Linked DNA regions of Homo sapiens: all the other regions are linked to region 3. Evidence: promoter capture Hi-C in 16 types of primary human blood cells and fetal thymus (Javierre and others, 2016). All regions are on one chromosome and are shown on one strand. The core of a region is centred on a gene start or on the middle of the fragment in contact, and the rest is flanking DNA. Distances in the headings are between cores, read along the strand shown. Region 1 overlaps TOPAZ1 (testis and ovary specific TOPAZ 1). Region 2 overlaps ZDHHC3 (zDHHC palmitoyltransferase 3). Region 3 holds the start of ZNF660 (zinc finger protein 660). Region 4 overlaps TGM4 (transglutaminase 4).

Region 1 (6,755 bases), core at 3,105-5,604, 260 kb before region 3:
CATCCAAATATTTGTGAAATCACAGATTTACTGTGATTTTTGTATTTAATGTGATCTTTATAATTTTTTAAAATACAATTATTAAAATTCTAATGTAACACCTAAAATTTTCAGGTACCATCAGTGATGTGTATATCACACTTAGGAAATATCACACTGTATAATAATGTCCTTTTTATATTGCAGTAGTTTTACATATTAAAGATACTAGTCCTTGATCTGTTGGGTATTTACAAATATTTTTCCTAGCTTTTCATTTTTCTTTAACTTTATGATGTTTTTTGCATTTTTTGTTTTCTTTTGCCTACTGACATTTTTTCTACTTAATATAAACTGCTGCTTTTTAAATATTTAATAATTTTTGTTTTGTATCATGCTTTTAGGCAGTCCTTAGTCATCTCAAAGTTACGTATTCATCCATATGTTCTTCAATTTTTTCATTTGTTGTTAGTTTTAAATTTTGGTATTAGATGGGAAGTTAATTTTATTTATTTCCCCAAAATGTTTTCCCATTTCATCCTTTACTCACTTACTTGAAATGCCATTTTTATCATATATTAGAATCTTGAATCTGTTGGGTCTGTTTCTGCACCTTTCTCCCAAGCATCTCTGTGTTTCTATGCTAGCACGATGCTCTTTTTATTTAATATAATCTTAGAATATGTGATATTTGTCTATCCTCTCTCCACTTGTCTCCATTTGTCTATCCACTCTCACTCCTCTTCTAAATTATTCTTTGCTATGCTTGTTTATTCTTTGAATGAATTTCAGAATTACTAAATCAGGTTTTAATACAGTTCTGTAGGAAATTTGATTGGGATTATATCAAATGTATACCTTGGCTGGGCTTGGTGGCTCACGCCTGTAATCCCAGCACTTTGGGAGGCCGAGGCCGGTGGATCACTTGAGGTCAGGAGTTCGAGACCAGCCTGGCCAATGTGGTGAAACCCTGTCGCTAAGAAAAATACAAAAATTAGCCTAGCATTGTGGCAGGCTCTGGTAATCCCAGCTACTCAGGAGGCTGAGGCACAAGAATCATTTAAACCCGGGAAGCAGAGGTTGCAGTGAGCCAAGATCGCGGCACTGCACTTCAGCCTGGGCAAGAGAGCAAGACTCGGTCTCAAAAAAATAAATAAAAATAAATGTATACCTTAGGGGAAAAATAGGTATCTTTAGATACTCCCCCATTTTAGTATTTACTGTTGGAAAAGATAATTATTTGTTTGATAGTCTCACTGACTAGCTTGGAAATTCATTTAATAGTTTTATGTTCCCAGTGTGTATATTCAAAATCTTGTGTGAGTAATGACTGAATGTGCATATGTCAGAAGGTAAGTGGATAAAAACAGGCTATTATGGAAAATATGCTCTCCCTTTGATTCTGAGATTTTAGACAAATAGAAAATATTTCCCAAATATGAAATAGAGAAAAACATGAAGATGAATGCTATAACAACTTTTACTGCTATAAAACTAGTATTAAGCCCACTAGTAAACTGTTTCTTATTCTTGGGAATTTAATTCTCATGAGTTCTCATAAAATATTCATAAAAGTATTTATGTTGGTAGAATTGTGAACTAGCTAGATTAAATTTAAAGCTATTAATTTCTAAGTGACTTCTCATTTATCAGTTTCAGTCGACTTTGATACATAGAATAATTAGCTTACTCAGATTTTTTTTCTTCTTAAAAACAGAGGTTTGATTGTGTTTGGTCCACAGTCAGTATTTCACATTATTTCATGGTGCAGGGCCCCTGGGTGGGAATCCCTGTGCAGTACTTGACAGGGCCTGTGGCCCGGGGTGATGAAGCAGTATGGCTGGTCAGGCCAGGAAGGGGAGAAGGGCTGGGGGCTCCACCTACTGAGGGGCGGGCATGGTGGCTCACGCCTGTAATCCCAGCACTTTGGGAGGCCGAAGTGGGTGGATTGATCACCTGAGGTCAGGAGTTCGAGACCATCCTGGCCAACGTGGTGAAACCCTGTCTCTACTAAAAATACAAAAATTAGCTGGGCGTGGTGGCAGGCACGTGTAGTCCCAGCTACTAAGGAGGCTGAGGCAGGAGAATCACTTGAACCCGGGAGGCGGAGGTTGCAGTGAACCAGGACTGTGCCACTGCACTCCAGCCCGGGTGACAGACTGAGACTCCATCTCAAAAAAACAAAACAAAACCCTACTGAGGGCCACGGTGGGGGGTGGGGGAGTGGGGCGGGGGAGGGTTTGCATAGAGAGGGGGTCAGGCTTAGTCCCAACAACTCAGAATTCGACTTGCCTTGTACGGGCCTCAGTTTCACCACCAGGCCCCAGGGCAGGTCTGAGGATCTGAGGTCTGTTATTCTGAGGGTCCTAGGGAAATCCAGCCATTCAGAAGCCTGAGATATTTCAGCATCATGGCCAGGCCCCCTCTCCCAGGGGACTCATTTCCCAGCACCATCTCCATTATCCCTGCCCCATTCCTCGGAAAAAAAAAATATATATATGTATTTTATATATATAATATGTATATTTTATTTATATATAATATATATTTTATATAATTATATTAAATGTATACCTTTATATATAAAAATATATATATATAGTTTTCTTTTGTTAATGCTTCCTGAAGCCTTTGCGGGCACAGAAACCACAAACTGATCGGCTGACAAAAGTAGGAAGAGGAGAGGCAACCGGAAACCTTTGGGGAGCAGTTCCCCTCCATGCCCAGGTCTGTTCTCCCCAGCACAGCTCGGCCCACAACCTGGATGTGCCACCAGGGACCATTACCCTACACGTATTGGGATATAGCTTGACCCCTTCCCCCACGGCCAGGTGGCTCAATCCTGCAAAGGAACCAAGGCAAGGCGGGGAAGAACCCTGCTGCCTGATCCCATGCTGCCCCTCACAGACCGTTGGTTGATTGGCAACACTGAACAGGTTTTTAAAAAAGATGGCAACACAGAAAAAAACAAAAACCCAGACAGGGAGATGATGTGGGGAGAGAGCATGCTAGGTCAGATTTTTTTATATACCTAAACAGTTTGATAAAAATTTTAAATGAATCTCCTAAAATACCATATATACTTTCCAAAAAATGTGACCATTACCCTACCTTAAATATAAAGAATAAGTATTAAAGAAAAATGATGCAATTTTTATGAGAAAAGGTTTATATAATCTACTTTTTGTACATGGGATATATCTAACAGATAAAAAATAATTGAACTTATTCAATCAAAGTAAAATTCACTTTATAAGGAATGGTGAACGAACAGTTTTACTTTTAATGGGAATTATGTTTAACAGATGATCATACAGTCTTTGAAGATATTAAATTCATTTACATTTCTCTCTATATTAAAATGTCAGCAAATGTAGAAGCAAATTAATGAAAGTATCTGTCTAAATGAGTTAATATTCTTAAAGCACTTAGAACATTCCTAACACATAGTATAACTCTGTTAGGTCAATCAGTCAATCACATGGGCTCTAGTAATTGAAAAGCTCCTTTTTAAAGCTTTATACTGGATACTAAAAGCTTTCTTTTGTCATGATATATTTGAATTATCAACTTTTTCTTCAATACTTTTTATATTCACTGTGCTAGGAAGGCCACAAAATAAAAGGATTACTTCTACATTTAGTTCAGTTGAAAAAGAGCACCAAAATATGATTTGAATGTTACATATAGTAATGTTTCACTATGTGTATAATGATTGAGTAAATTAGGTAAATGATAAAATATTGACATTTCTAACATTTTAGTACCTCAGTGTTCTGTACTACAGTCTCCCATTGTTTTTCTCAATGTGAAAATCAGAGCAGAAATTAAGGAACTTCAGCATTATAGGTAATATTCTCTTTTTTTAAAGAGGGTCTGAGGTCTGTTGGTTTGAGGGTCGTAGGTGGGTGTGATGGGTACACAGGAGTTAATTTTATTATTATGCTTTTATAACATATATTATTCTTCTGTATACAACAACGATTTCATAATAGAAATTGTTTTTAAAATAGAAAGTGTTAAGAAAAGCTATTCGCTGGTCGGGCGCAGTGGCTCATGCCTGTAATCCCAGCACTTTGGGAGGCCAAGGTGGGCCAATCACAAGGTCAAGAGATCGAGACTGTCCTGGCTGACACAGCGAAACTCCGTCTCTACTTAACATACAAAAAATTTAGCCAGGTGTGGTGGCACGCGCCTGTAGTCCCAGCTACTCAGGAGGCTGAGGCAGGAGAATCACTTGAACCCGGGAGGCGGAGGTTGCAGTGAGCCAAGATTGCGCCACTGCACTGCACTCCAGCCTGGGTGACAGAGTGAGACTCCATCTCAAAAAAAGAAAAGAAAAGAAAAGCTATTCCCCAGTAATACCAAAAACTAATTAAATTATTTATTGTGAAATTGTTAAACTTGTCCACATAAATAATATTTTATGTTAAAGCAAATATTTGTGATAATCTGAACTTTTTTATATAAAAATAAACATTTAAAATTAGTAATTGACTAGTACACTTAGATGAAGAATTAATTAAAAATAAATATAACAAAGTGGCCATTTGTTTGCATCTTCTTCAGATGATGATCATCACTATATAAGTTATTTCTAATAAATTTGAGCCATGGTTATCTTCTCTGAGTACATATGTTTAAGTTTTGCCTGTTTCTTCAAAAGATATATTGAAACATTAGTTGTGATTATACTGTTAAGTGTCATTTTCATGGTATAAACTATTCATATTTTTTTCTTTTTGGAAGAGTCAGAGTGGATAATCAATACGCCTCTGTGGCCTTGTGATAGACTGGATGTGCTTAATCGACATAATTTACTCTGTACAATTGCACATGAAATCTTAGCCAAGAGCCTTTATAGACAGACATTTGAAGTTTTGCAGAATCTACCAGGTTTTCAAAATTCCCAAGGTATGTTTTTTAAAAGTCTATCTTAATTATCTCTTGCCCATCTGGTGTTTAACTGTTAATAAGAAATAGTTATCCACCTGTTTTGATTGAGTTTTATATTCCAGCATATTTTTTAATGAAGTAGTTTTCTGTAAAATATGTTCTCTGCAAATTGAATATACTTTCCTGATGGTTTAAAAAAATCTGAGATGCTTATCTTTGGGTTGTTTGTCAGCAGTTCCTAAGACAAGCATTTTTATCATTCCCTTTTCCCTACTTCTGTCAAGTCATCAGCAAACAATATGTTTAAATGCCCTGAGCAAGCTTTTTCTCTTATCACTGAATAAATACAGAACTTAGTTTACATTACCTAGGAACACAGGTAAACTTGAAAGAAATGGAGGAAGTGAAACAGATGCCAAGTTCAAACGCCAATGTGGGAAATGGTAGTCAGTACTCTTGAATGTTGGGTGTCCATGAGCAAAAGCTTTGGGTCAAGAATGAGCTATGTGATAGGTTCAGAGGATGACGAAAACGTTAACCTGAGGGCCTCCCCTCAGTACTTTCATCGTACTATCTATAAATTTTCATTTTTCCACTTAATTCCACTGTGCTCCTGTATTGTAATGAGCATTCTTATCTGTTTCTCCTTATACAAAGTGAGCTCAATCAGGATGGTACTATTTTCTTTACCTTGGTATTCCTGGCCCAATGGCTGCTATCTAGCAATCTCTTAATATACAATTAGTTGGTAATGAAACAAAGTAGTAATAGGGAGATTGGACAGATAGTTGTGCCAGATTTTGGAAGACCCTAAATGTCAGGCTAAAGGAATTTTCTTCTCTGTGTATAAAAAGGGATCACTAGAGTTTTGGGTCTAGGGAGTGATATAATGAAATTGGTGTTTCAGGAAAGTTCCTCTGGCAGTAGTGTTTAGGAAAAGACTAAAAGTAGAGAGATTAATTTCCTGATAAGTCCTGGATAACTAAAAGATTCTAAAGCAGTAAGGAACTACAGTCTAGCTCACAGACCCAACTGACTGAATATAGGGAATAAAAGAGAAGTCTCTAAGATGACTTCTCTTTCTTCTAAGAATAACTGAAGGAATAGAAAATCCATTAAAGGATTGTTTTAAATTTGGCAGTAAATATTTATTAGGGGATGATTTGTTTTTAGTCAAGGGATATATAAGGCTAAGGTCTGAACTGTAGATATAATACAAACAGAATTGAGAAATTATTCAAGACACTACAGATACACAGTTACATGTGGGAATCAAATACAGAGGTCTTAATGCATCCTCTGAAATTTTTGTCAAGCTTCTTTTTATCTTCTCTATTGCAAAGGAAGTTAATGGTTTTTCTTTTGTCAAATGCTTTTTCGTTTCTGACTTAGAGAATATGTAAGATAGGTTGGGCGCGGTGGCTCATGCCTGTAATCCCAGCACTTTGGGAGGCTGAGGCAGGCAGTTCACTTGAGCCCAGGAATTTGAGATCAGACGATATGGGCGTGTTCAGGGTGGTATGGCCATAGATGAGCCCAGGAATTCGAAACTAGTCTGGGCAACATGGTGAAACCCTGCCTCTGCAAAAAAACATAAAAATTAGCCAGGCCTGGTGGACCTGTAGTCCAAGCTACTTAGGAGGCTGAGGCGAGAGGATGACTTGAGCCCAGGAGGTGAAGGTTGCAGTGAGCCAAGATCATGCCACTGCACTCCAGCCTGGCTGACAGAGTGAGACCCTGTCTCAAAAAAGGAGAAGAAAAATAAAGAGAATATATAAAATGATTGCATTTTAGTGACTGTGAGTCCTATAATGGGTAAGAAAGGGTGAAGGGGAGGAGAAAGAAAAAGGAGTATGAGATGGAGGTTTGAGACACTTTAA
Region 2 (6,670 bases), core at 147-2,646, 330 kb after region 3:
AACACTGACCTTCTTCTCCTCTGAACTGCAGCCACAGGCCCCTTGGGGCCAGGACTCATGCCCTTTTGCCTGGAGCTGGAAGGGGGGCCCTAACACTGAGGTCTTGCAGGGGCATGCTCTGCTGAGTGCCTGTGCTCCTGCCAATCCTGACGCCAGTAGACGCTGGGGAAATGGGCCAAAGAGAGGAACAAAGGCACGTGGAGGGAGTGGGTGGTGAATCCACTTCTTATACCAAACGGGGATAAGAACCCTTCTGTTGGGCTTTGTGCAGAAGATGCTGCTTCAGCAACCACTGGAATGGGGTTTAGGAGCACCAGAACGCTGCTCAGACCTTCAGCAGTGGTCACAGACACCACAGGCTTCAAATGGGGTGAATAGAGGGCAGACTCATCCTGGTGGGGTGTGTGTGTGTGTGTGTGTGTTTGTCTATCTTCCTGATTCATCTGATTCATCAATCAGCAGACCCTGGCCATCACCCATCTTTTCAGAGACAAGATGGGCACCAATTTGGGAGAACTGGCCTTTTCAAACACACAGGCAGGGTTTATGGTCAGTTCTACCTACATGTGTTATTAGACTCCCTCCAAGAGGTAACATTCAATTAAGTTCTCATGCGAGTGGTTAGGGAGTCCCCAGTAGCTCCAAAGAGGTCCTTCCCATATCCACATCTGTGAATGGCTAGATATGTAGCCACAGGCAGGACAGCTCCCAGCTGTCTCGCTCAGTGAAGACTCCAGTGTCTGTGGAATGGGGGCTCATTTTCGGTGCTACTGTCTTAACTCTGGCTCTGTCCATGCTGGACATGTCCTGCACATGTGTGTGTAGAGCTTAATGCAGGGTCCTCTTTGAACCATGCCTGGCCCTTGCAGGTAGATGTGGCAGCCACCTCTACCTCCTAATTTCGGCAGGCAGCATGGGGAAGCCCTTTCCAGGGAGTAGCTGGCAGCTCTGCAGTCTTTCCAGGCTAGTCTCCCCTGATGTCAGTGTCCCAACCCAGGTCCCCAAGGCAAGCCCTGCCCGGTCCTTCTGTCACAACCTTACTTCTCAAAGCCAGGAGCCAGGGGCCCAGCCTTCCCAAGAGAAGACAGAAATCCTGGGGAAAGCCAAAGGCAAGCTCTTTTCTGCCCCTGGGATGCCCTGTTCAAAAGCTCCCTTTGCTGGGCGGAGAATGTGAAAGCCACCCAGTCTTGGAGAACGGTTCTTGATGAGCCGTCTCAGTGCAGACTCTTCTTAGATGAACTCTGAGAAAGCCCCCATCCTCCTCTGATGTCCCCAGCCTACTCCCGACCCCCAGACCTGGCCCAACATGGAGAGAAGAAGGAGGGGAAATGGCAAGGCCAAGCGAGTGGCTAAGGGAAGCACTGGGGGTGCTGGGAGCGCACCATGCCCATAAGCCCCTTTAGCCAAAACCCCAGGATGAAGGTTGACAGCACTTTTTAGTGTTTGCTTCTCTCCCCACAGCAGCATCTATTCATCTGTCACCTCCACAGAGTCCTCGTCCTTTGTCTCCTCTGATGGATCCTCCATTGTTTCGGTGTCTGACAGCGATGTCACCTGCCGCACCATGTCTTTGTCACTGGGGATCTCTGGCTGACACGGTCTGGAGAAGGGGTTGAACCAGTTCAGGGAGAAGTCCCCACCAAAGGTCTCCTTTACTGACTGCCAGCTCCCCATGTGCTCCCTGGGCTGGTTCTTTCGTTTGAGGCGCTCGATGCCCTGCAGGGAGAAGGGGATGAAGAACATCGTCAGCGTGGTGCTGGGCTGTACAGCTCACATAGACACCCCCAGCTATAGCATAGCAGTGGCGGGGGGGGGGGCGGGGTGTCCACGGCATGGGTAAGATGGGGTCTGAGTGGGCAGTCTGTTGTGGCCCAGGTCACCCCCGGGAGGTCCCTCAGAGGACTGCTGGGGTGTGGGTGGACAGCAGCGTGGAGGAACACAGCAAGCAGGGCCCGCCTGGTGGACTGACGTGTTCTCCACCCACCACCCAGCCCTCCCCTTCTTTCCTTCCACAAGTGCAATGCCAGATGATGGGCAGGGGCTAGGCTGATGAGTGGCTGAGGCATAAGGGGGACCACACATCCTCTGAGGCCACTACAAACTGGTGATCCCCTCCTAAATATTTTTGGCCACTCCCACCAGGGTAGATAGGGGCTGCAAACACAGCAGAAGGACGATGGGGTTAAGGAAGGAGTGCAGGACACAAACAGCATGCGAGGTGAAGAAGCGGGTGCTCGTACAGCAAGTGCCAACATGCATTAGGCAGCCGGAGGGCACACAGGACCACTGTGGGGAGGTAAGGCTGGGCTCAGGCCTGCTCATGCAGCAGATCCACCCTGCAGCCTCTTCCAAGCTGTCAACTCACCTGCCTCTGGGTGTCGGCTGCAACTCAGCCACCAGGCCACAGAAAGGGTGTTGGGGTGGGGAGATGCCCAGAGGAGGTAAAGACATGGCCAGGCCAGCTCTCCAGGCCCACAACACCCTGCACAGAGGCCTTTGACCCTCCACTGGGGGCACTGCTTTCTCCATCTCTTCTGGAAGCCAAGGGAATTTGCTGTGGGTTTGCTGGGCTTGGGCACTGCTCCTTCACATGACTCAAGAAAGATCTCTGTGTATCTAGCACTTTTTCTTCCCACGCCATTTCAGAGATTTAAGATTCTTGACTTTTGAATAAATTCTAAGTTAAAAAAATTGGATCTCAAAAGTATATCCTCATAAGATACTTATCAATTACAAAGGGAAAAACAGTACCTTAATAGCAGGGAAGAAACATTGCACGTACCACCTTCACCCAATGATCAAAGTTAACATCACAATAATGAAACGTATCAACACCATATGCCTCCTGATACGGTGCAACGAGGACACATTGCTTCAGCAGTGCTCCTGCCCCAAATGCCTAACCTCAATCTAATCATGAGAAAAACATCAAAAACACAATCTGAAGGACAGCCTACAGAATACCTGCCCTACAATCTTCAAAAGGGTCAAAGATTGATGAAAAGATTTTGGAACCAGACAGACCTGGTGGTTACAAAACATTGTGAATGCATTAAATGTACACTTTAAAATGGCTAATTTTGTGTTACAGGAATTTCACCTCGATTTTTAAAAAGGGTCAAGGTCATGAAAGACAAAGGAAGACTGAGGAACTGTCACAAACTGGAGGAGACTAAGGAGACATCGCAAATGATGCAGTGTGGGATCCTGGAACAGAAAAGGGTGTTAATGGGACAACTGGAGAAATGTGAATAAGGTACATACATTAGTTAAGGGTATGGTGTTGCCAATGTCCAGGGTTTTATATTTGTATTATGGTTGTATAAAATGTTTACCTTTGGTGAGACTGACTGAAAGGTACATGGGAACTCTTTGTACTGTTTTTGTCACATTTTTGTAAGTCTGATTTCACAAAAAGTTTAAAAATAATCAATAATCTGAGACAAAGATTTATGCAATACAAACTTGAACACTGAATTATAATAATGCAAAGCTGGAAATGAGAAATGCCCAATAATGATGGTTAAGCAAATGATTCTATAACACTATGCAGCTAGAAAAGATGGTTTAATATGGTTTTACATGACATTAGAACATTTGTCTGAGTGGTTACTTTTGGGGATGGAATTCTAGAGGATTTGTATTTATTTCTGTAGACTTCTCACACAATCCAAGTTTTACCAATGAGCCAATGTTACTTTTATAATCAGAACAAAAATAGTTGTTTCAGAAAATGGATCTTGTTGACACAAGTCTAAAGGGACCTTCATGTGGGTCATGAGCATGTGATGCCATGCTGCTTCCTGACTGGCCCCTCGCCAGGCCTCCCTTCTTGGCACAGAAGCAGTGACCAGCTGAGATGGTTTGCTTTGGGCATTCTGCATTCTCTTCCTGGGTGATCATCTGCAGCCTGTTGAGAAAGAGGCTTTAACTTCATAGCACGAGAGCTGGGACATCACCATATGGCAGACCCGGCTACAGAGGAAACACCCAAAAATGACAGACTGGCTGCATCCACACTGACTTGGACTCAAAGCCATGACCATAGGTTTTTATGGCCTCCTTGTGAGGAGGTGGGTATGAGTATTGATGATTGGCAGATGGGGAAGAAACAGAAGTTCCAAGAGGCCATGACGGTGGCCAAGGCTCATCTAGCTTGTTATGTATCAGAACTGGAACCAGAACTAGTGTCTTTTTTTCTGCCCAACAGGTTTCCAGTTCTACTGCAAATCACCACTGTGCCCAGGCTGAGCTCAGTCAGAGAGAAGGGGAATGAAGCCAAGAGCCCACAGGATGATTATTTGCCATTCATGTGGCATGCTCCCAGATAGGCACTCTTGGATTATACTCAACCTCCTCACCAACCTCATAAAGTATTCCAGACAGAGCCTGGCCTGTCTACCAGAGGTCTTCAGCAGTAAAGTCGACAAACTTTCAGGGAGTGTTGACTTTTGAGTCTAGAAAGAAAATATTGCAAACAAATCCGATGTATAAAAATGGGCTGAGGGCTGCTTTTTCCTGGTAGGACTCAATTTTGAGTTTTGTGTGGATTTAAAGGGATCCTGCAGGCAAAGTTCTTAAGCTTGAGGTTTGCAGAGGAGCAGTAATAGTAGCTTCAGGCTCAAGAGAACGAACAAAAATGGTTGATGCCTGGTAAGGGGGTCATAGTCGACACCAGAAGCTCTTGCAGGGTGTGTGATGGGCCTTTTGGCCCAGGTCAGTCTGGGTGACACATGAGCTGTGATCTGTGAACAAACTCACCAACACTCCAAAATGAATGTATTAGGACTAAGGCTCCCGAGGAAGGAAGAGTCTGTGCAGAACAGACTCAGCTGAGCCCCACAGAACGAGAACAGGCTGTTCCCTGCTCCCTGTATCATCAGATGTAGAAAGCCAGAGCCTCAGGGAGCAGCCTATGCAAATGTGTCTCTTCATAGCGGGCCAGATAACACTGTCTCTCCTCATCAGAGATTTCATACCTCTATATTGTAACCCACAAGAGGAAACATTTTTCTGTTGCATTCCAGAACACATATACACACAACTCCCTAAGCTTCATAAAACAATACTTATCCTGCAATATGTAATGCATTAAACATTTTTCTTGAAAAACATGCTGGTTGCAAACCATGAATGGCTGTGACCAATGGTTTGAAAAGCACAGCTCCAACACAGCTAACATTTATAAAGCCATACCAGGGCCAGACGCTATACATTCCTATTCATCACCCTCATTTAATCCTTCCATTAACTTTGTGATTTAGATTATCATTCCCGTTTTCAGATGAAAAAACTGAGGCTTAAAGAAGTTACTGCTCAAGGTCATATTTTGGTAGTAGGTGCGGTAATAAGTAGCCAAGCAGACATTTCAACCAAAGACTGAAGCCAGGACCCAAATACTTGGTCACCAGACTATATGGCCTCAGCTGCAGAAATTCAGGGCATCCTTATGTCCGTGTTAGAGCATGTGCGGCCCCTAGAAGGCTTTTAGCGAACGTCCCTCTGCAGCGCTTGTCCTCACTCCTTGGATCAGCTTCATCGGCTCCTCCTGTGGGCCCAACAGAGCGGGATCCCTGGGGGCCACTCTGCTTTGCTACGGCAATCACACTGCTCAAGTCAGCAAGATGTTTACTTGAGGGAGAGGGTGAGAAAAAGAAGGTTCAGGTTGGGAGTACGCTGGTCAGTGGCTTGTTTCTGCTTCACTGTGAATTCTTTCTCTTCTATGAGGTGATCCTAAGCCAGATACATATTTAAAGAATACAAGAAAAAGCCACATGGGTGTTGAAACCCACACGTAGAAAGCAAAGGTCAAGACGTGTTCAGGTCATGTATCCAGGCTGCTACAATGCCCCTGGCTCTAGACTACTCACCGGCCGCCGCTCCCATCTGGAGGTCCCTTGGTTCTACTCTTTTCTCTTTCCCTTCCGGGCTGCTTCTTCACCCAAAGGGCCCTTGGTCTAGAGATGGGTTCCACTGATGAGATGCACAAGGAGTGGTGGGCAGGCTAATAATTTGGATCTGCTTCATACAGACTTTCTTTGATGTCTTGGCAGTTGTTTGTTGGGGAGGCCGCAGCTTATGAGGGAAGGCAGTCTCAGTGGCTTCTCCGCGGAGGGAACACGTGCCTGTCTCACAATCAGCACACCCCAACTGCACTATGCTGAGCCCAGCAGCACACAAGACCCATATCACCAGCAGGCATCAGGGACCACCTGAGGGGGGACTCCTGCTAGCCCCAACTGGATTCTCAAACTTGATAGTCAGAATCACCTGGAGGGCTGTTAAGACACGGGCTGCTGGGCCCCGCTCGGTTTCTGGTTCGGTAGCCTGGGGTGGGGACCGAGAATGTGCATTTCTAACAAGTTCTCAGGTGATGCTGATGTTGACGTTGCTGGTCTGGCAACCTCAAGAACACCTTTGAGGAGGATTCTAGCAAAATCTTTCTCTTTTCACATTTCTTTGATATCTAAGGGCACCTTCTAGGTGGGGCGCCTTCCCCTCTACTGGCTGGCTCACCCTTTAAGCTGATGCACTGCAAGTCTTGAAAAGAGAGAAATTTAAAACCCATTAGCCTGGCTGAGAAAGCCCATCCCAGCCCACCCGGAGAGGAGTTTCTGTGTAATGCCAACCTCACATACATGTTTAAAATGTTTGTTTTTTTTTTTTGAGA
Region 3 (6,612 bases), core at 19-2,518:
CCTTTCAAGCTACTCGATTTCTAAAAGACCATCCCATGCTAGTTGCTCAGATCAATAACCATGGAGTCATCAGTAACCAACATTCAATTCATTAGCAAATCATGCAGGCCATGCCTTCAAAATATATGCAGAACCATTTCTCACTACCTGCATCACTTCTAAGCCTGTCCAAGCCACTATCAGTCCTCATCTGGAATATTGTAATGGCCTCTTAATCTCCCTGATTCTACTCTTACCCACCTTCAGACCGTTCTCAACAAGACAGCCAAAGCAAACTAAAAATATAAGTCAAAGAGCAAAATTCATGCAAGGTTTATGTTAGAATGGCTAAGGACAGACAGCAAAGAATTCACAGAATTTATAGTAACAGGCTTCTTGGCTTCTTTCATGTCTCATAGCTAACAAGTCTTTGAATATGTGGTAAGGGAAAAAAAGTTAGATCATGTCGTTCCTCTGTCCCCAAGCCCTCCAGCTGTTATGCAGAGCAAATCCAAAGCCCTTATCATAGTCTACAAGATCCTAAATGTGCACCTCTCCACCCCACTCCTGATTAAAGAATTTTGCTCCTAATGGCCCACTATGGGAATACTCTTTCCCCAGATAGCCACATGCTTCAATTGCCCACTTCCTGTCTCTGCCCTCCCTGTCATCTGTAAAATAGTCCCACCACTATCTCCCTCTCTCCCCTTACTCCCTCTCTCCCCTTACTGCTACGTTCTACATATTTATTTATCATTGTCTCCTTGACTTGAATGTAAACTCAATGGGGCAGAGAGTTCATTTTCTTCACTACTGTATCCGCAGCGCCTGGAACAGTGAGTGACATAGTAGGCACCCAAAACGTCTTTTCATATGCTGCCAATAAACCATAGCTGATCCTGGCTTTGAGGCTGAATGACCCAGATCTGTGGAAGGAAAGATGACCTCTCTGCTCAGCAACCGGAGCTGGGGGTGTAACTTTAGGGAGTCTCAGCCTGAGGCTGGCAGCCTGGCCACCCAGATGCTCGGTCTCTTTCCGCCCTAACCAAGCCCCCTGCCCAGCTTCCACCACTTCCAGGGCCCTCCTCACATTGGCTGAAGTCGCCAAGCCCTTCCATCCAATGATAGGGCAAAGCCCGGAAGGGAGGCAGGGCCAGAGCGTCGGCCGACCGCGCGGGGCTTCTGAGGGGCGGGGGGACTCCAGCCCGCGGGCACAGAGATGTGGAAACCTCACGAAGCCTAGAAGGGCCGGAGGGACAGGCTGGGAGTTAGCTGGGAGTTGCTGACGCAGTTCCTTCTGCGCTTTGTTCAAGATGTGGGTCTGGCGCTTTCGGTGAGGGGTGCTCTACAGTCTGGCGTGGGGGGTCGGGCCGGGTTCTGGGAGCGTGTGGGAGACGCAAGCCAGGAGGCCAGGGCTCCTCTGCGGCTGCCCGCTGCTGAGATGGGCGCGGCAGCCAAGGGGTCGTTGTGGGCCTCCCCTTTCTCTCGTTCAGTGCTGCCCCTTTGTCTTGGGTCCAGTCTCTGACTCCTCGTAGCTGCTCGCTTGGACCAGGCTGGCCGTGGTGACAGCACTGTGTCGTCCCCGCTCCTAGGCAGTGGGCCTTCCGGGTAGTAGCGGTCGAGTCCCGCCTAGGCTCTCAGGACTCCACAGCCCCTGAGTATTTGACTCAAATCACCAGTCCAATATCCCTCCCGTTACCAGTGAGGAACCTGGGGCCCAGAGAAGAGGACGGAGTCTTGCCCAAGGTTACTCATTCATTCATTGATTCATTCAACAAATATTTATTGAGCACTAACCCAGTAGTGTGCTAGGTCCTGGGGTTATGGTTGTGTACAGGACAGAACTAAATTCTAGTAGGGGAGAAATGAAACAAACTTCAAGGGTTAGAAGCAGAGCCTGGGGATCTGGAGGGGGAAACACAAAACATATTTGAGGCTTAGTAATCCTAAGAAATGGGTAAACAGAAAAAAGGAACATTCTTTTTCTAGTGCTCTTTTAAAGACTTGTTTCTTTCTGTCTTCCTAAAGACACTTGACTCAGCAAAGTTCTCCCTCTCATCCCCCTTGTGCAGACTTTCTGTGGAAAGCTGGATTGCAAGGAAGTTCTCCACTGCATTGTATTTTGCAGTTAGATGAGAATATGGAAGCTTTTAGATATCAATGGAGCAGGTGAAAAGGGGAGGCTGTGGTGTGATGGAATTAGGATTTCCTGAAGACACAGAAGGCTTTTTAATCACTCACTAGCTATAGGACCTTGGGCAAGTCGTTCAATCCCTGGGAGCTTCATTCCCTCATCTTTACACTGGAAATGATCCTTCTTACTGCCCACAGTTCTATAGGAAGGGAAGTTACCCAAAGATGGGACACTGCCCTGAGTGTCCACTTGGAATTCAGGGCTCAGAGAACTCAGTCATTTATATCTGTTTACAGTGACTCAAGACCCTCTTAGGAACTTCTTCACTGAACTCAAGGAGGAGATCAGGCAAGATCTGTGCTGTGCAGATCCTTTGGATTGAGGCTGCTGTGCACAGGAATATGGGTGAGTCATTCCATTCTCTCCTGGGCAGGTGAGGCCTAGATTGTGAAGTTAGTCTGGGCACAGGAATCCTGCTTGTGGGCACCAGGGTTGAAAGGGAGCTTCTCTCAGTGGTATTTATCAAACAGGAGAAAAGCACTGAAGTGGGCAGGGGGCCTCTGGACCTTGAGGAGTAGAGTTTTGTTTCAGATGGGAATAAGGGTGATGTAGTAGAACTCAAAATTGGGTGTCATGGGACTTGGATTTGAGTCCCAGCTTTCCTCTAAGTTCCAAGTTTTCCTTCTGTACATTTGGATATAAGACTGGATAGACTGGGAGGTTCCTTCCAGCTCTGACATACTGAGAGTCTCTGAATAGTGGGACCAGGTCAATCTCTTAGGGAATTTAGTCCCTGGGATGACTCTGTTGAGACAGAATTGCCAAGAATGCAAATACACCATTATGGTGTTTCCCAGATAATATGAAGCACAAAAAGGACAAACATGTAGAGGAGGGATGGTAGTAGTGATGTGTGGATTTGGCTCTCAGCATCCCTATGTGCACTCCAGGTGTTAGAATCTTAAACTTGTTTAATTTACCATTTCAAATCAAACAATGCTGACTGAGCCCTCTCTGTGTCAGACACCATGTGGTATCTACAGGCAAATCTCATGGGAACTGCTCTCTGAGGGCATAGAGCTTAATGTATATATTTGAGGATGGACACAGACATACACACAAGCAATTCCAGTATAAGGCAAACTCTATTTTATAGATTTGTTATGGCATTTTTTGGAATACAGAAATTTTTATGTGTCAGATATATCAGCTTTTTCACATGGTGTTAGCCTTTCCCTTGAGGCTTAGGCCTTTCTTCTAATTCTTTTTTTTTCTTGCAATGTTTACATTTCACTTATCCATCCCTTGAATTTATTTTCAGGTATTTCCTCTTATTCCTTACTCCACTGCACCTAATCAATAACCAAGAACCATGTAACCATTGCTTAGAGGGACTTGAACAGGCAGATGATGCTGGTGAATTAAAGGAAGACAGCCTCCAAGTAAAGCCTCTCTCTCTCTCTCTCAATAGGATTCTACCCTTTATGTATTTTTCACAGCCTGAAATGGATGGTGGTCCTAGGATTAGAACACTTACCTACCAGTCTCAGAGATTTGTGGGTTAGAGATCTGCAGGGCCTTATCAGTCCTCATACATTCACTGGCTGTCTGAGATTTTGCTTTTCTGTACAGTTGCCTAGATACCCCTAGTGTCCTACTGGCCTGTGGCCTCATGTTTCCCTCCAAACTTCTCCAGCCAAGACCCTACTTCCTTAGTACCTAGGAATTCTTCCAGGATTTCTGAGGGCATTTCCTATCCAATCAGACAGAAGGGAGCAAATAGGTTTCTTTTTGATCAAACTCTCCTCATTTGGCCCTCTTTGATCTCCTGTCTGGTCCTGCTTCCTCCTCAGCTCCTCCATCACCACCCTGGGCTTTCTTACAGTGCATCGCTGTGCATTTCTCTTTCTCCCTACCTGCCCCTTTGTGTTAGGCTATTCTTGTGTTGCTGTAAAGAAATACCAGCCGGGCGCGGTGGCTTACGCCTGCAATCCCAGCACTTTGGGAGGCTGAGGTGGGCGGATCACCTGAGGTTGGGAGTTTGAGACCAGCCTGACCAACATGGAGAAACCCCATCTCTACTAAAAATACAAAAAATTAGCTGGGCGTGGTGGCACATGCCTGTAATCCCAGCTACTCGGGAGGCTGAGGCAGAGGAATCACTTGAACCTGGGAGGCAGAGGTTGTAGTGAGCTGAGATCACGCCATTGCACTCTAGCCTAGGCAACAAGAGCGAAACTTCGTCTCAGAAAAAAAGAAAGAAAGAAAGAAAGAAATACCTGTGACTGGGTTAATTGTAAAGAAAAGAGTTTAAATTGACTCACTGTTCTGCAGGCTGTACAGGAAGCACGGTGCCAGCATCTGTTCAGTTTCTGGGGAGGCCTCAGGAAGCTTTTACTCATGGTGGAAAGTGAAGTAGGAGGAGGCAGAGCATGGTGAGAGTAGGAGCAAGAGCAAGGCAGAGGGATACCACACACTTTTAAACAACATGATCTCACGAGAACTCACTATCACAAGGACAGAACCAAGAGGATGACGATAAGCCATTCATGAGAAATCTACCCCCACGATCCAGTCACCTCCCAACAGGCCCACCTCCAACATAGAAGATTACATTTCAATGTGAGATTTGGAAGGAACATCTAAATGATATCACTTTTCTAACCCAAATCCCTTTCTCAGTAAGCTTATCTGTTTTTTTATTTTTTTAATGTATTTATTTATTTTGAGACAAGTTCTCACTGTCTCCCAGGCTGGAGTGTGGCGGCATGATCATAGCTCACTGCAGCCTCGACCTCCCTCAGCCTCCCAAGTAGCTGGGACCACAGGCATATGCCACCACACCTGGCTCACTTTTTAAAATATTTTTACCCAGGCTGATCAAACACCTGGGCTCAGGCAGTCCTCCCACCTCACCCTACCAAAGTGCTGGGATTATAGGAGTGAGCCACCGTGCCCGACCCTCAGTAAGTTTATACATTTTCATGACTCCCTCTGTCCTCTCTGTCTTATCATTCTCAAATTTGCCTTCGTGATATATTCCTCTTCACCTTGTCTAAAATGTTTCTGTGTGTCCCCATCTTGCTTAGTGACACTACCATTCTTGGTATTCAGACATGGATCTGATGACCTTGGATTGTTTCCTTCAGTCCATCCTCTGTATTCAAAGGAATATGGATGTGTGCGTTATACATCTGGATGCGTTCCTGAAAATAGCTAGACTTCATTGTTCTCTGTTCTCTCATCTTGGATTAGGGTCTTGCTATCTTATTCATTTGTTCATTCATTCAACAAACGTTTATTGGGTACCTACAACGTGCCAGACCCTCCAGTGTTCACCTGTACCGCATGACTAGTGTTGTCTCCTAATTCATTTCCCTTCCTCTTTTCTTTTTAACCCCCTCTAATCCATCTGGGCTAATCTTCCTAAAGAGTTCTTATCCTAATTTCACTTTTGGGTAGGATAATGCAAAATTTATTGTCCAAACGGGGATACTGTTGTGAGTTAAGGGAGCCATTATTAAATATGATGCTGGGATAGTAGGCTTAAACTAGCACTATTCTGGGAAAACCAGGATATATGATTGCCCTACTTGACATCTCTTGGATTCTTTACTTTCTGTTTCCCTCAATTTACTCCCCATGTGTTATCCCAGCTGCCTCTCTCCTCTGTTTTCCATTTCATTAAGCTGAGAGAAACGTGAATGTTCTGGGAGGTGGTAGTGGAGGAACTATGGGAACTAGGGGAAGTGCATGGTAATGCTTGAAAAACTGTATTGTTAAGTGAGAAAAAGAAGGAAAATAACAAGAGTGGAGAATAGCAAGGTACAAAAAAGAATATAGAATGGAGAAAGAAAATTAAGGATAGATTTCACTCTTCTGTTTAGAACTGGTTTCCCTTTGACCATCAGTTTATATCCATATTTTTCATCTTGTAATTTCAGTATTCTGGTTGGAATCACTTCAGGCAGCTTGATTCTTTCTTCATTTGTTAATTCCAACAACAAAAAATGTTGAGCGCTTACCATGTGCCTGGGACTGTGGTAGTGCTAGGAATACAGGGTAAGCAGGACGGACAAAATCCCTGCCTACATGAAGTTTATATAATATTATGATCTCCCATTTATTTTCATGTATACCAACCCTGTGCCTTTTTTTTTTTTTTTTTTTTTTTGAGAAAACACTGCTTATTCTCCAGGGCTCAGCCTAAATTCTGCCTTTTTAAAATGCTTTTCTCCATCATTCCATGCCTTAGTAATTGCTCCCTCCCTCCCCTAGTCCTCTTCATCTCCTGCTTGCATACATTGTAAATTTGAATTTGCTCTCTTATTGTTTTTCCATACTACTCCATTGTAAGCTCTTTAAGGGAAGTATGATATTTCATGCTTGTATTAGTGTGCTTGGGTTACCATAACAAAATGCCATAAACTGAGTGGCTTAAACAACAGAAACTTATTTTCTCACAGTTCTGCAGCCTAGAAGTGTGAGATCCATGTGCC
Region 4 (6,650 bases), core at 2,700-5,199, 300 kb after region 3:
TTTATAGTGATTTTCTCTGGAGAAAGGATCTGGGAGTCTGGGATGGGAGAGAAACTTAATTTTTGTAATGGGCATTTATTACTTTTGTTTTATTATTATTATTATTATTATTATTATTATTATTATTATTATTATTATTTGAGATGAGGTCTCACTCTGTCACCCAGGCTGGAGCACAGTGACGTGATCTCGGTTCACTGCAGCCTCCAGTTCCCAGGTTCAAGCGATTCTCCTACCTCAGCCTCCTGAATAGCTGGGATTACAGGCATGCGCCACATTACCCAGCTAATTTTTTATTTTTAGTAGAGATGGGGTTTCACCATGTTGGCCAGGCTGGTCATGAACTCCTGGCCTCAAGTGATCCGCCTGTCCTGGCCTCCCAAAATGCTGGGATTACAGGCGTGAGCCGCTGCGCCTGGCCTCTTCTTTATCCTATTTGTGATTCTTTGTGGTTCCTAAATAAGAGGATTCATGTCTCTCATTCATTTTGGAAAGTTTTCAACCATCACCTCTTCGCTGCTGCTCCCCATTCTTGATTCTCTCCTTTCAGAACAACTATAGTATATAGTTTAGCCCTTTTCATCCAAGACTCCGCGTCTCTAAACTGCTTTTCATATTTACTTCTATTAATATTTCTCTAGGTTGTATTATAGGTATTTGTTTCCAGTCTATTTTCTAGTTCACTGATTCTCTTTCAGTTATGTCTATTTGCTGTTTAACCTGTGAGTTTTTTTCATTTTGAGAACCATATTTTCATTTTTAGAAGTTATGTTTTAAAAAATTTATCTGGTCATTCTTAATAGTGGCTTATTCCTTTCTCATCATTCTGATTTATTCTCTTAGGTCCCTAGCCATTTTTGACTTGGCTATTTTATGGTCTCTCTCTCTCTCTCTCTCTCTCTCTCTATATATATATATATATATATAGTTTATTTAATTTAATTAATTTATTTATTTATTTTTGAGATGGAGTTTCACTCTTATTGCCCAGGCTAGAGTGCCATGGCGTGATCTCGGCTCACTGCAACCTCTGCCTCCCCGGTTCAAGCAATTCTTCTGCCTCAGCCTCTCGAGTAGCTGGGATTACAGGCATGTGCCACCAAGCCTGGCTAATTTTTTTTTTTTTTTTTGAGACAGAGTCTCACTCTGTCGCCCAGGCTGGAGTGCAGTGGCGCAATCTCGGCTCACTGCAAGCTCTGCCTCCCAGGTTCACGCCATTCTCCCGACTCAGCCTCCCAAGTAGCTGGGACTACAGGCGCCTGCCACCACATCCGGCTAATTTTGATTTTGTATTTTTAGTAGAGACGGGGTTTCACCGTGTTGGTCAGGCTGGTCTCGAACTCCTGACCTCAGGTGATCTGCCCACTTCTGCCTCCCAAAGTGCTGGGATTACAGGCATGAGCCACTGTGCCCGGCCCTATATTTTTTAATATTTTATTTTATTTATTATTTTTTGAAATAAGGTCTCACCCTGTCACCCAGGCTGTAGTGTAGTGGTGTGAACATGGCTCACTGCAGCCTTGACCTCCCAGGCCCAAGAGATACTCTTGCCTCAGCCTCCCAAGTAGCTGAGACTGCATGTGCACATCACCATTCTCAGTTAATTAAATAATTTTTTTTTAAAGACAGGGTTTCTCTATGTTGCCCAGGCTGATCTTGAACTCCTGGGCTCAAGGGATCCCCCTGCCTCAGCCTCCCAAAGTGTTGGGATCATAGGCGTGAGCCACTGTGCCTGGTCCATAGTCTATATACGTTATTTTATAGTCTGTATATTATCTGATTTCTTGGACGAATACTTGTGTGGTTTCTGCTGAAATAGTGTATTTTGTGTTTTAAAATTTGGGGCTATAAGCTCACCTTGAGTGTGACTTTATCTGTGGGAATGCCATAAAACTTTGGTGGAGAATGAATTACTCCAAAGAAGATTGGCGTTTATCCCCTAAACCAGTGACAACTGTGACTAGGAGCCAGTTTCTGCCTATGAGCCAAGGACAACTGTTTATTTTACTTTCTCAGTATGGGGGAATCCCAGACCTCTACAGAAAGAGGTGATGTTTGAAATTTTTCATAACCGGTATGCATTCTGCAGGGGCTGTGCTCCCACAAGCACTCTGGGAAGGAGACTCTCCAGGAGTGCCTGCTGGCAGGTGGCAGTAGACTCAGGCAGCAATATGGACACTGGGGGGTGGGGGAATGTGATTTCTTGTGGCAAAAAGTACAAAGAAAAATCAGCAAAGGGAAAAGCCTGCTGGGGTGAGGTCCTGAGGGAGCTAGGCAGGTCTTCCAAGAGTCCTCTCCAGTGTCACACAGGATGTGTTTAATTCCTTTAGCAATTAGTTGTGACATGTTTTTTCTCTGTGTATCTCATTCATTCAGCAATCATAACTTTATTTTCTTTTTGTTTTTAGTAATCTCTTATTCTCACCCAGACCTTTCATCTGGAATGGTTGTTTGCAAGAGGGACAAAAGCATTTTTACAGAAAAATATTTTAATACAACCTAACCAGAATAACACATCATATTCTGGAATTGGTCAGGACAAAATCCTGAATTTTCAAAAATTTTCAAAATGGTAGTTCGGGTGTGGTGGCTCGTGTCTGTAATTCCAACATTTTTGGAGGCTGAGGCAGGAGGATCGCTTGAATTCAGGAGTTTGAGACCAGCCTGGGCAACATAGTAAGACTTCATCACCACTATGAAGTGCACTATGGTGCACACCTGTAGTCCCAGCTACTCTGGAGGCTGAAGTGGGAGGATCCCTTGAGCTCAGGAGGTTGTGGCTGCAGTGAGCCGTGTTCACACCACGGCACTCCAGCCTGGGTGACAGAGCAAGGCCCTGTATTAAAAAAAAAAAAATCAAAGTAATCTTAAATAACCTCTCACTATTTTTTGTCCTGATCATTTATTCATTGAGCAGCCTAGAAAAGGTCAGTCCCTTTCTGGGGAAAGCTGTATTTAATAATCAAACTGCCTTACCAGAAGGAAGGAGAAGGAAATTGTATTAGTTTATTTTCTGTTGCTTATAAAAGAATACCTAAAACTCAGGTAATTTATAAAGAAAAGAAATTCATTTATTACAGTTATGGAGGCTGAGACTCCAAGGTCGAGGAGCTGCATCTGGTGAGGGCCTTCTTCCTAGCGAGGACTCCCTGAGGAGTCCCAAGGTGGTGCTGGGCATCACATGGTAAGCTCAGGTCTTCCTCTTCTTATAAAGTCACCAAGATCCTCTTAAGTGCGTTTTTTCTTGTCATTTCAAGAGTCCCACTTGACCCACTCAAAAATATACATACAGACTGGAAAATCATAAGCTTCTAAGGCTGACAATTTCACAAGAGCTCATTAGCAACTAATGCTAATTTTAGTTTAAAAGCAACTTTGCTTTTTAAAACTCCAAAAGTATATCGCCATCTGGAGATTGCTTGTCTTTTATGTTGTCTCCTTTTTTCCAGAGGCTTCATAGGCAAAAGTTATAGCAAAAATTATCCATTGCAGAGACTTTTGTTTTTTAATACTCAAATAATTTAAACTCCAACCCACACATTGGTGGCAAGAAACAAGGACATTGTATTCCACTGACACTTTTTCTTTGCAGGTTTCCCTGGTCATCTTGCATTTATGACACTGCAAGCATTAAACTGGTATATCAATTTTGACCATCTATCCAAGTGCAATAGCTACAAAATAAAAATACAAACGCTTTTTTTTTTTTTTTTTTTTTAGAGTTGAGGTCTCACTTTGTTGCCCAGGCTGGCGTGTTGTGGCTATTCACAGCTGCAATCATAGCTCACTGCAGCCTCAAACTCCTGGGCTCAAGTGATTCTCCCACCTCAGTCTCCCGAGTAACCGGGATTACAGGTATGTGACTCCAAAGGCATTTTTTTAAAGACAGCCCCAGTGTGGCTTCCTGTAGTTCCAGGATTCCTCCAGCCTCCCAGATCTGCCTTAAGCAGTGCTCAGGTCACAGAGCAGTGCCCAGGAGAGGGTGAGGGAGGAGGCTCCAGTACTGGCCATCTGTTATGTGCTGTATGTTGGTTTCTTAGGGCATTCAAATGACCACAAATGAGGCTGCTTAAAACAACAGCAATTTATTATTCTCTCGTTCTGGAAGATAGACATCCAAAATCAAAATGTCCGCAGGGTCCTGCTCTTGCAGAAGCCTCCAGTGGAGAATCTTCCCTTGTCTTTCTTGGTTTCTGGTGGCTCCAGGTGTTCTGTGGCTTGCAGCTGTGTAACTCCAGTCTCTGCCTCCATCTTCACATGACCCTCCCCTTGCCTTTCCATGTCTCTTATAAGGACACTTATTCTTGGATTTAGGTCCTACCTGGATAATCCAGGATAATATAATCACAAGATCCTTAATCACACCTGAAAATCCCCTATTTCTATAAGGTCACATTCATAGGCTCCAGGTGGAGATATCTTCTGTGGGACCACCATTCAACCCACTATATGCCCATCTGCCTAACATTAATGATGGCCTGCATTTTGTCGAGTGCCTACTGTGTGCCAGGCATGTGCCAGGCACTCAATGTGCACACTAGCCACCAAGGGAGGGACTATGTTTACCATTCCAGGGAGATAAGGTCTTAAGAAGCTTCCACAGAGATGACTGCATTTAGGATTTGGATTTCTTAACTGCTCTTTCCTGCTTCCTGGTACCAAAACCTATACCTTTACCCCTTGGGAACCCAGGTCACCCACCTGCCCAGTCCATGGGGGAGCAGGAATAAGTCAGAACATGGGAGGGACTGTTAAAGCCCTTTTCCAGCTGTGATTGCTTTGCGATTGGCTCTGGGTCCCACAGCAGGAGCTCTGCTGTCCAGGGAAATGAAGAAGCCTTTCAGGATTGCAGCTCCTGACAGCATGCTATGGTTTGAATATGTCTCCCCCTAAAATTCAGGGGTTGCCAATGTGGTGATACTAAGAGGTGGGGCCTTTAAGAGTTGATTAGGTGATAAGGGCTTCTTCCCTGTGAATGAGATGAGGTGCCCCTCTAAAGGGACCTGAAGGAGGGAGTTGGTCCTCTCTCGCCCTCTGCCTTCTGCTATGTTACAATGCAGCAAGAGGCCCTCACCAGATGCTAGTGCCTTGATCTTGGACTTCCCAGCCTCCAGAACTGTGAGAAATAAATTTCTATTCTTTCTAAATGACCCAGTCTCAGGTATTCCATAACAGTGGCACAAATGGGCTAAGATGCTCCAGCTAGCCATCGGCCCACCCCAAGGTTTCAGCCCAAGAAGGGGAAGCACCTGGGAAGGTAGGTCTGTCTGCCAGGTGGGCCTCCCTGCTGGAGGCAGCAGGTTCCCAGGCCCTGTGCGCAGTGTGAAGGGAAGGCCACTTGCTGGGACTTGCCTTCCTGGAGAACACTTGTCCAGACCCCAATCCCAAAGCCACTCCAGCAAGAATGAGCTGTGCTGTCTCCAAACACATCACTGGCCGCATCCCCAAGGTAGGCATCTGATGTGGGCGTGACCACTCCACCTATTTTGTAGTCATGAAAGCCCAGTTTCCATGGCTGGCCTCCTTGATCTCTGCAGAGGATGGGTTTCCTCTGTGGGTGAGCCCTCAGGAGCAGAGGAAGGTCCCTGCATCTCACCTCACTTTACCTCACAGGCCACAGCGGGGCTTCCTAATCTAGGGGTTCTCCATATGTGCCTCCCTGGGCCAGCAGCACAGCGTCATCAAGGAAGCTGCTGGAGAGGCAAATTCTCAGCCACACCCCAGATGTGCTGAATCAGAAACTCAGGGTGGGTCTGGCAGTCTGTGTTTTACCATGCCCTCTGCACACTCGAATTGCCTGGAAAGCTTTGAAAACATAGAGGCTCAGCCCCACTCAGAACAATTGTATCAGAATCGCTGGGGGAGAACATAAGTAGTTTTACAACCCCCAGGTGGTTTCAGCATGCAGCCAAAACACATTTCCCTTCATGACTCATGAGCCTGGGAATGGTTTGAATTTTAGATAAAGGGGAGGGGTTTGGGTCTCAAGCTGAGGTAATACGAAATGTCATTATAACAGACACATGGTGAGAAATACATGTGCTACAGAAAAGGGTGTATTATGCATGTGGAGATTATTTCTTTTACTGAATGTACTTTTCACTTTAGCATTGAAGAAAAAAATCCCCTGTTTTTTTTGGGGGGGATGGAGTCTCACTCTGTCACCCATTCTGGAGTGCAGTGGCTTGATCTCGGCTCCTGATCTCAGGTGATGCGCCGCCCCCACAGCCTCCCAAAGTGCTGGGATTAGAGGCGTGAACCACTGCACCTGGCCTTAAAAATCCCATTTATAATGCAAGTAGTCTTGGCCTCAGATCATGGGAGCTCCTTGGTGCTTCCTCCTCAATTTGGATAAAAAGGCTTCACCCCAGCCACTTTGCACCCCACCCTTCTCTTCAGGATGTGAACTCTCACCTCAGGATGGTGTCTGACTTGAAGCTGATGGGAGTCTGGGCTGAACAGGAAGGGGAGCAATCCCAGGGCTCATCTGTTCCCTCCTCAGTTTGCCCGCTCCCCTCTTTCCCTTCAGCTTTTGTGTTGATTGACGGAGAACACCCTGGCACCAGGTTTGTTCCTGAGGCCATGTCTGCAGAGAGGGGGAGTTGGGGTGGGAAACTTGCCTAACAGCCACTCACAGACTCACCCTGTTT

Evidence for each region. The method cuts DNA at HindIII sites, captures the fragments that hold promoters and counts their contacts. A CHiCAGO score of 5 or more calls a contact.
Region 1: a fragment that was not itself captured here is called in contact with the fragment with the promoter of ZNF660 in region 3 in 1 of 17 cell types (megakaryocytes); the score reaches 6.6 in megakaryocytes.
Region 2: a fragment that was not itself captured here is called in contact with the fragment with the promoter of ZNF660 in region 3 in 6 of 17 cell types (naive CD8 T cells, total CD4 T cells, total CD8 T cells and 3 more); the score reaches 6.9 in naive CD8 T cells.
Region 4: a contact is called between a fragment that was not itself captured here and the fragment with the promoter of ZNF660 in region 3, in 6 of 17 cell types (activated CD4 T cells, total CD4 T cells, total CD8 T cells and 3 more). The highest score is 6.7, in activated CD4 T cells.

What each region holds. Positions count from the first base shown.
Region 1 is chr3:44,316,299-44,323,053 of GRCh38, forward strand. TOPAZ1 (testis and ovary specific TOPAZ 1) reads left to right here. Exons shown (of 20, transcript NM_001145030.2): 17 at 4,729-4,893. Among named protein-coding and RNA genes, the nearest start is that of TCAIM, 19 kb to the right of the region's middle. The HindIII fragment of the contact is 1,680 bases long and covers 3,515-5,194 here.
Region 2 is chr3:44,916,428-44,923,097 of GRCh38, forward strand. ZDHHC3 (zDHHC palmitoyltransferase 3) reads right to left here. Exons shown (of 7, transcript NM_001135179.2): 7 at 1-6,670. Among named protein-coding and RNA genes, the nearest start is that of TGM4, 45 kb to the left of the region's middle. The HindIII fragment of the contact is 6,368 bases long and covers 1-4,580 here.
Region 3 is chr3:44,583,696-44,590,307 of GRCh38, forward strand. It overlaps ZNF660 (zinc finger protein 660), which reads left to right and starts at 1,269. Exons shown (of 3, transcript NM_173658.4): 1 at 1,269-1,312; 2 at 2,410-2,518. It overlaps ZNF660-ZNF197 (ZNF660-ZNF197 readthrough), which reads left to right and starts at 1,269. Exons shown (of 8, transcript NR_147692.2): 1 at 1,269-1,312; 2 at 2,410-2,518. All of the region lies in intron 2 of ZKSCAN7-AS1 (ZKSCAN7 ZNF cluster antisense RNA 1), which reads right to left. The HindIII fragment of the contact is 2,337 bases long and covers 1-2,124 here.
Region 4 is chr3:44,878,361-44,885,010 of GRCh38, forward strand. The region is part of intron 1 of TGM4 (transglutaminase 4); the gene reads left to right. Among named protein-coding and RNA genes, the nearest start is that of TGM4, 7.1 kb to the left of the region's middle. RefSeq lists an enhancer at 5,534-6,211. The HindIII fragment of the contact is 1,286 bases long and covers 3,307-4,592 here.